Regions from separate parts of the Homo sapiens genome. Here region 1 is linked to region 2. Evidence: promoter capture Hi-C in 16 types of primary human blood cells and fetal thymus (Javierre and others, 2016). All regions are on one chromosome and are shown on one strand. The core of a region is centred on a gene start or on the middle of the fragment in contact, and the rest is flanking DNA. Distances in the headings are between cores, read along the strand shown. Region 1 holds the start of CLEC4G (C-type lectin domain family 4 member G). Region 2 overlaps ARHGEF18 (Rho/Rac guanine nucleotide exchange factor 18).

The links. Contacts are between HindIII fragments. The CHiCAGO score rates a contact against its expected background, and 5 or more counts as called.
Region 1: a contact is called between the fragment with the promoter of CLEC4G here and a fragment that was not itself captured in region 2, in 2 of 17 cell types (erythroblasts and megakaryocytes). The highest score is 7.8, in erythroblasts.

The regions. Positions count from the first base shown.
Region 1 is chr19:7,730,860-7,733,559 of GRCh38, reverse strand. CLEC4G (C-type lectin domain family 4 member G) reads left to right here and starts at 1,450. Exons shown (of 9, transcript NM_198492.4): 1 at 1,450-1,512; 2 at 1,789-1,899; 3 at 2,241-2,294; 4 at 2,472-2,534. The coding sequence starts at 1,458. RefSeq lists a cis regulatory region at 1,376-1,385 and promoters at 1,192-1,455, 1,143-1,455, 849-1,455. The HindIII fragment of the contact is 11,720 bases long and covers 1-2,700 here.
Region 2 is chr19:7,358,847-7,364,543 of GRCh38, reverse strand. ARHGEF18 (Rho/Rac guanine nucleotide exchange factor 18) reads right to left here. Exons shown (of 29, transcript NM_001367823.1): 2 at 1,639-1,763. The coding sequence starts at 1,653. Among named protein-coding and RNA genes, the nearest start is that of ARHGEF18, 13 kb to the right of the region's middle. The HindIII fragment of the contact is 165 bases long and covers 3,522-3,686 here.

The sequences.
Region 1 (2,700 bases), core at 201-2,700, 370 kb before region 2:
TAGCCACTGCCCACTGCCTAGTGCCCATCCCAGTCCTGCCAAGTACTTATCCTACTGGATTTTTTCTTCCCTTAATGTTTTTTCATAGCATTTATGACTTTTGAATAGAGTATACTACGGTTCCCACCTTTTGCACTATGGACATTAGGAGTCAGATCATTCTTTGCTATGGGGGATGTCTTAGGCATTGTAGGGCTTTGCGCAGCATCCCTGGCCTCTACCCACTAGATGCCTGGAGCACACACACACACACACACACACACACACACACATTCTGTGACAACCAAAAGTGTCTCCAGACATAGCCAAATGTCCCCTGGTGGGCGTAATTGCCCCCAGCTGGGAACTACTATGCTATACAACTTATGTTTTCAATTATGTTTATTACGTTGAGTATGGAGTCTGTCTCCCCACACTTCTAGAATATTAGCTCCAAGAAGAGAGGAATTTGCTTATTTTACTCTCTGATGTGGCCCCAGTTCCAAGATCAATGCCTGGCATATGGCAGGTGCTCAATGTTTGTTGAAAGAATGCATGAACACTGAGTGTTTTTGATATGCCTGAAATGGTGCTAGGTAGACATGTATAACCTCATTGTCTTTATTTTTTTATTTTTTCAATTTTTGTTTTCATATATATATATATATATATATTTTTTTTTTTTTTTCAGAAATGAGGGTCTTGTTATATTGCCCAGGCTGGTCTGGTCTGGAACTCCTGGGCTCAGTGATCCTTCCATGTCGGCCTCCCAAAGTGCTGGGATTACAGGTGTGAGCCAGCAAGACTGTCTTGTTTCTTTATCATAGCATCTTTGTGAGAGAGGCCCATCGCTATCTCCTTTACAGTGGGGAAAACTAAGGCTTCTAGAAGCTACCTAGAACCCATACAGTGGTAGAGTCCTGCAGCTCCGCCGGCTACCTCCCTAACAAAACTGTTTGTTCCCTTCTGGTACAGAGGGACTGGATCAAGGTCAGGTTCAAACCCAGCCTCTGCAGGCACCTGCAGGGGAGTTGAGAAGGGACCTGAACTGGCCTGGGGGGCTATGCCTGAGGGGGCTTTCTCAGGAGCCAGCAGGGGTTACAATTTGGTCGGGTTCAGTGTGTCCCTCGCGGGATAAAACCCAGCCCCAGGCCCATAAGAGATGGTGACTAAGCTCCAAAGAGAAGCCTCCAGCCCCAGGCCCATAAGAGATGGTGACTAAGCTCCAAAGAGAAGCCTCCAGCACCAGCCTGGGGATGGAGCTGCAGTGGCCAGAACCAGGAGGCTGGAACCGCCCGGCCTCACTCCAGCCCAGCCCAGCCCAGCCTTGAAAGGGCCCAATCCTGTGATTGGTCCATGGGTTCCCGTTGCCAGGAATTAAGGCCAAGAAAATGGGAAGGAAGGAAGGGAGTGCGTAGGTCCAGTGAGAACAGGCGTGAAATTTATATCTCTGCCCAGGACTGGGTGCCTGCATCGCCATGGACACCACCAGGTACAGCAAGTGGGGCGGCAGCTCCGAGGAGGTCCCCGGAGGTATGAGCAAGGAGACTGCCCCATCCCTGCCCCAGTGTCTGGGGTTTGATGGGGGAGGGGAGGGAAGAGTCGAGACAGGCCAGGGTTGTGGGTGCAGGAGAGACACCACAGGCCATAGAGCCAGTTGGACCAGGGTCCAATTCCAACTCTGCCGCTTAGAAGCTGTGTGACCATAGGCAAGTTACTTAACTTCTCTGAATCTCAGTTTCCTGGGAGTAACTCAGGCCTCCAGGGCTCAGTTCTGGGGGACCCAGCATGCCGTCCTTGTTATGCCAGGGCCCTGGGGACGCTGGGTGCACTGGAGCAGGAGACCCCTCTTCTTGGCCCTGGCTGTCCTGGTCACCACAGTCCTTTGGGCTGTGATTCTGAGTATCCTATTGTCCAAGGGTGAGTGACTCTCAATGGGGAGGTGTTGCATCCGGCCCCCCTGGGGACAGAAAACCCCCACTGCATGGCGCACCAGCTGCATCCTGGGGTCCTGTTCGCGTCTGAGTGTGAGCAGAGTGTGTGTACATCTTTGGGCCGTGTGCACTCACGCGTGTGCACATGGCGTGCTCGTATGTGCGCGAGTCCCCGCGCGTTTGTCTCCCATCGGCGTGTGTGCACATCGTGTGAGCTGTATGCCTGCCCGCCCGCTCCGTGCTCCCGAGTTGGGGGACGCTGCACCCCCCGGGCGAGGGGAGGATTCCCGAGTTCCCGGCCTCGCCTGCAGGAGCCTCTCTCCTCAGCCTCCACGGAGCGCGCGGCGCTGCTTGACGGCCACGACCTGCTGAGGACAAACGGTGTGTGCAGAGCCGGGCGCCTGGGCCCCCGGGGCGTGAGGGGCGGGAGTTTCTGAGACCCCGGAGATGGAGTCTCGAGTGCGTGGGGGCCCTATGGTCCCTGAGGCTGGAAGGGGGTCCCCTGAGTCCTCCCAAGTGACCCGAGGGGCATGCATTTTGGGGCGGGGGTCGTTCCAGCCTCGAAGCAGACGGCGGCGCTGGGTGCCCTGAAGGAGGAGGTCGGAGACTGCCACAGCTGCTGTGAGGGGGCGCGGTCGAGGCTGTGGGCGCAGGGATGGGGTCTTGCGGCCGCGATGGGAGGGGGGCCGGGGCGGAGGCCTGCGGCGGGTGGTGCGGGGCGGGGGCTGGTCTCCGAAGTCCCGCCCCATCCTCGCCGCCCTCGCCCCTCTCACCCTGCGGCTCCCAG
Region 2 (5,697 bases), core at 2,355-4,854:
TAGAGAAAGTGTGATGAGAGCAGAGGGTATGGACGCAGGCTGCAGAGTCAGAATGGGCTTGAATCCCAACTCTGCCATGACGGGAACTTAGGCAAGTCAGTCTACCTTTCTAGGCTGTATTTGGTTTTAGTCAGCCTGCCTTCCTTCCTTCCTTCCTTCCTTCCTTCCTTCCTTCCTTTCCTTCCCTCCTTCCTTCCTTTCTTCCTCTCATCCTTCTTCTCATCTATCCATTACCCCTCCATTATCCGTCCATCCTTCCTTCATCCTTTCATTTATCCATCCTCCTTCCTTCCATCAACCCATCCATCCATCTTCCTTACTTCCTTCCTTCTTTCCTTCCTTCCACTCACCCGTCTTCTCATCTATCCATTCACCCATCCGTTATCCATCCATCCTTCCTTTATTCTTTTATTTATCCATCTTCCTTCCTTCCACTCACTCTTCTTCTCATCCATCCATTCATCCATCCATTACCCATCCATCTTTCCTTCATTCATTCATTTATCCATCCTCCTTCCTTTCATCCACCCATCTTCCTTCCTTCCTTCCTCTCACCCTTCTACTCATCCATCCATTCACCCACCCATTATTTATCTATCCTTCCTTCATTCTTTTATTTATCCATCCTCCTTCCTTCCATCAACCCATCCATCCATCCCCCTTCCTTCCTTTCTTCCTTTTTTCCTTCCTTTTCACTCACCCTTCTTCTCATCCATCCATTCACCCACCCATTATCCATCCATCCTTCCTTCATTCTTTCATTTATCCATCCTCCTTCCTTTCATCAATCTAGCCATCTTCCTTCCTTTCACCCATCCATCTTTCTTCCTTCCTTCCTTCCACTCACATTTCTTCTCATCCATCCACTCACCCATCCATTATCCATCCATCCTTCCTTCATTCTTTCATTTATCCATCCTCTTTCCTTTCATCCATCCATCTTCCTTCCTTCCATCTTTCATTTTATTCATCAATCATTCATGTATCCATCCACCCACATTTCTCATCTTTCTTCCTTCCTTCCATTCACCCACCTTTCTACTCTTTCATTCATCAACCATCTCTCCTTCCTTCCTTTAATCCACCCATCCTTCTACCTATCCATCCATACTTCCTTCTTTCCTTCCTTCCTTCATCCATCCTCCTTCCTTCCATCAGTCCATCCATCTATCCATCTAGCTTTCTTCTTTTTATTCACCCATCATCCATTTATCCATTCACCCACACTTCTACCCATCTTTCCTCCCTTCCTTCTAGTCATCCGTCATCCATTCATCCACCCAGCCACCCTTCTATTCATCCACGTATCCATCCATCCATCCATCCTTCTACTCATCTTTCCTTGATTTCCTCTTTCCTTCCATCTATCCATCCATCTATCCAGACACCCACCCACCCATCCATCTATCCATCCATCCATTCATCCCTCCATTGCTCCTTTCCTCCCTCTTCTTATTTCAGAACAGATTCTGGTTTCCTCATAGGTAAAACAGGATAATAAATGACTTTGCAAGTTTCGATGAGGATTCCCTGAGATAATGTACACAAAGTGCCTGGTAAAATGCAGGTGCTAAACAAAGTGTACTTGCTGCCACTGTCGTCATCAGCTCCTGCCCGTTTCAGCAGTCAGACACCTGCCTGATCATCCCCCATGGCAGAGAAGAAGTCTGGGTTCTCAGGTTTCCAGGATCCACTGCTGCTCTTGGTGGCTGAAGCCACAGCTCCAGAGTCAAAAGGCTGGACACATGACTTGGGCTCAGAGCCTGTGGAGAAAGGAGGGACAAGGTGTCAGGGATAAGCTGGGAGTGCTGAGGAAGCCAGGACCTGGATTCTGCATCTGTTGCTGGTCACCCTGGACCTCAGTTTTCTCAACTATAAAATGAGTTGGTGAGGGGAGGGGGAAGATGGTCTCAATGATCTTGAAGCCAACATACGTGTCACCTCTTCCCCATCCCAAGCCTATGGCAGACATTGCTAGTCAATCATGAGTCAATTTCCTGCTTAGCCATTTGCCCCCTCAGGATTCTTCCCAACACACCAGTTCCAACAGCCATCACCAGGTGATCCAAGTTGGCTTATGTATGAAATCAATTTGTTATGCCTGCTCTAGGAAAAAGCCCTCAGTTGATCAATGATGCTAATGGTCCCGTAGACCAAATGCAAGTACCCAATGCCCACATTGTTTTTCCTCCTCCTCCTCTTCCTCCTCCTCCTCCACCTTCTTCCTTCTTCTTCCTCCTTCTCCTTCTTCCTCCTCCTCTTCTTCTCCTTCCTTCTTCCTTTCTTCTTCCTCTTCCTCTTCTTGTCTTCTTCTTCCTCTTCTTCCTCTTCTTTTCTCCTTCTTCTTCTCCTTCTTCTCCTTCTTCTCCTTCTTCTCCTTCTTCTCCTCCTTCTCCTTCTCCTTCTCCTTCTCCTTCTCCTTCTCCTTCTCCTTCTCCTTCTCCTTCTCCTTCTCCTTCTCCTTCTCCTTCTCCTTCTCCTTCTCCTTCTCCTTCTCCTTCTCCTTCTCCTTCTCCTTCTCCTTCTCCTTCTTCTTCTTCTTCTTCTTCTTCCACAGAGTCTTGCTCTGTTGCCCCCAAGCTGGAGTGCAGTGGCGTGATCTCAGCTCACCACAACCTCCGCCTCCCGAGTTCAAGCCATTCTCCTGCCTCAGCCTCCTGAGTAGCTGGGATTACAGGTGCACACCACTGCACCTGGCTAATTTTGTGTGATTAATAGAGTTGGGGTTTCACCATGTTGGCCAGGCTAGTCTAGAACTCCTGACCTCAGGTGATCTGCATGCCTCAGCCTCCCAAAGTGTAGGGATTACAGGTGTGAGCCACGGTGCCCGGCCAGTGCTTTATTTGTTTTAGGGCTGAATAATATTCAATTGCATGGAGATACCACATTTCGTGTATCCATTGATCTGTTGATGGACATTTGGGTCGTTTTCACCATTTGGTTATTTCAAATCACGCTGCCATGAACAATTGCATACAGATGTACGCAATTGCACGGATGTGTGTTTTCCATTGTCTTGGGTCGTTACCTAGGAAGGGAATTGCTGGAGTACATGCTAATCTATGCTTAGCTTTTTGAGGAACCGCTGTTATGCAGTCTCTTTTTTGAGATAGAGCCTCACTCTGTTGCCCAGGCTGGAGTGCAGTGGCGCCATCTTGGCTCACTGCAACCTCCACCTCCGGGATTTGAGTGATTCTCCTGCCTCAGCCTGTTGAGTAGCTGGGATTACACGTATGCACCACCACACCTGGCTAATTTTTTTTATTTTTAGTAGAGACGGGGGTCTTGCTACGTTGGCCAGGCTGGTCCGGAACTCCTGAGCTCAGGCAATCCCCCCGCCTTGGCCTCCCAAAGTGCTGGGATTACAGGCATGAGCCATTGCACCTGGCCTAAAACCACTGAATTGTATGCTTTAAATGGGTGAAGTATATGGTAGCTCAATAAAGCTGTTCCTAAAAAGTTTTTTGTTGGAGCCTCTTGCAGAGCTTTGGATGGGGCAGGTACACATGGGGCCTGAAGCTTCAGTTTCCATTGCTTCAAGGTAAATTTGCCCCCTGATGCCACCTGTATTCACAGATGAGTGGCTGGACAGTAACGAGCAATGCCAGGGTTTCCACCATCACTGCTTTCCAGGTTGCCCTCCCGGGCTGGTTGGAGGGACTCTGTTCAGCTGCTGTTGTTAAGCTTTGCATCTGTTCTCTTCCCCACCCAGAAGCCGAAGCAGCATCTATGACTCACAGAAACGAAACAAGCAGGCTGTGAAGGAGGAGGAAAGCCAGATGTGGGGGAGGGTCCTGGAGGTTGGTGGGAGCTTGGGAGGGGAAAGGCAGTCCCATTCCTCAGCCAAGTCCCCTTAGGGCTGGAGGAGAGCCTGCAGGGTTGGCTTGCTTCACTGGACAGGGTCCTTGTGGAGGCCTGAGGCCTCCTGTAGCCTGCAGGACCTCATGCCCTGTATCTGTGAACCCTGAAGGTCTGGGATCCAAAGATCAAAGGTGAAAGGCCAGGGTTGGCCGGGCCCAGTGGCTCACACATGTAATCCCAGCACTTTGGGAGGCCGAGGAAGGCGGATCACTTGAGGTGAGGAGTTTGAGACCAGCCTGACCAACATGGCGAAACCTAGTCTCTACTGAAAATACAAACATTAGCTGGGCATGGTGGCATGTGCTTATAATTCCAGCTACTAGGGAGGCTGACACATGGGAATCTCTTCAGCCAGGGAAGGGCAGGATGCAGTGAACTGAGATTGTGCCATTGCACTCCAGCCTGGGTGACAGAGTGAGACTCTGTCTCAAAGAAAAAAAAAAAGGAAAAGAATGAAAAAAGAAAAGAAAAGAAATGCCAGGGTTGTGTGATTGTGCATGTTTTGTTGTTGTTGTTGTTGTTGTTGTTTTGTTTCAAGAGAGTCTTGCTCTGTCACCCAGGCTGGAGTGGTTCCATCTTGGCTCACTGCAGTCTCCACCTCCTGGGTACAAGCGATTCTCCTGTCTCAGACTTCTGAGTAGCTGGGACCACCGATGTGTACCACCATGTCCAGCTAATTTTTGCATTTTTAGTTGAAATGGGGTTTCACCATGTTGGCTAGGCTAGTCTCGAACTCCTGGTCTCATATGATCCTCCCACCTCGGCCTCCCAAAGTGCTGGGATTACAGGCATGAGCCACTGTGCCTGGCTGAGTTTTGTTTTTATAGGGAAGCTTCTGACCGAGGAACAGGTTGAGCTTGACCTGATGATGAACTCAACTGTGATCCTAGTTCCCAATGACTGACTCAACTCTGATCCTAGTTTTACAGATTGAACTCCAATCTTTGTGTCACAGACTGAGCCATGATCCTGGTGTCATATACTGAGCCTTGATCCTGATATCACAGACTGAACTTCATCTGGCTGTCATTGGTTGAGCATTCATTCTTGTATCATAGAATGAACCCCCCTCCTAGTGTCATAGACTAAGCCTTTATCCTGGTGTCATATATTGATCCCTGATCCTAGTGTCATAGGCTAAGCCCTAATCCTGGTGTCATAGTCTTAGCTCTTATCCTGGTATCATAGACTGAGCCCCAATCCTGGTGTCATAGACTGAATCTTGATCTGGCATCATAGACTGAGCTCCAATCCTGATGTCATAGGCTGTGTCCTGATTCCAATATTATGAGCTAAGCCCTAATCCCAGTGTCATAGACTGAGCTCTGTCAATTACCAACCACAATTGCCCCAAACGATTGCCAATCACATTTGTCACTGATCCTCAGCTACCAGTCTCTCCCCTGTAGTCCATCTTCTGTCCTGGAGTTGGTGTGTCCTTTTGATATAACCCTCTGATGGTCACTCCCCTTCTACTGATCCCCACCCCTATAGACTCCAGTCCCCTTAGAATGACATTCAGAGCCCTCCTCAGCCTGTCCTCTTACCTCCCTGTCACACACATGCACACCCAACTCACCATTCTCCTGGTATCTCTGTGCTGTTCCTACCACTCTTCCTGCCTGGCAACTGAGGGCTCTGTCTCAGATCCTCTGCAGACAATTTTAGCCATAGGACTTTGGATTGCTCTGCCTAGCTCTTTATAGAAAAGGTTTGCTGATCCATGCTCTAGAGCATGAGGTCTGTGAGGGCAGTGACTATATCTGATCCACTTTTACATCCCCAAGCTCCAAAAGGTAAAATCTTGTATCAATCACTTTCTATATGTCTGGCTTA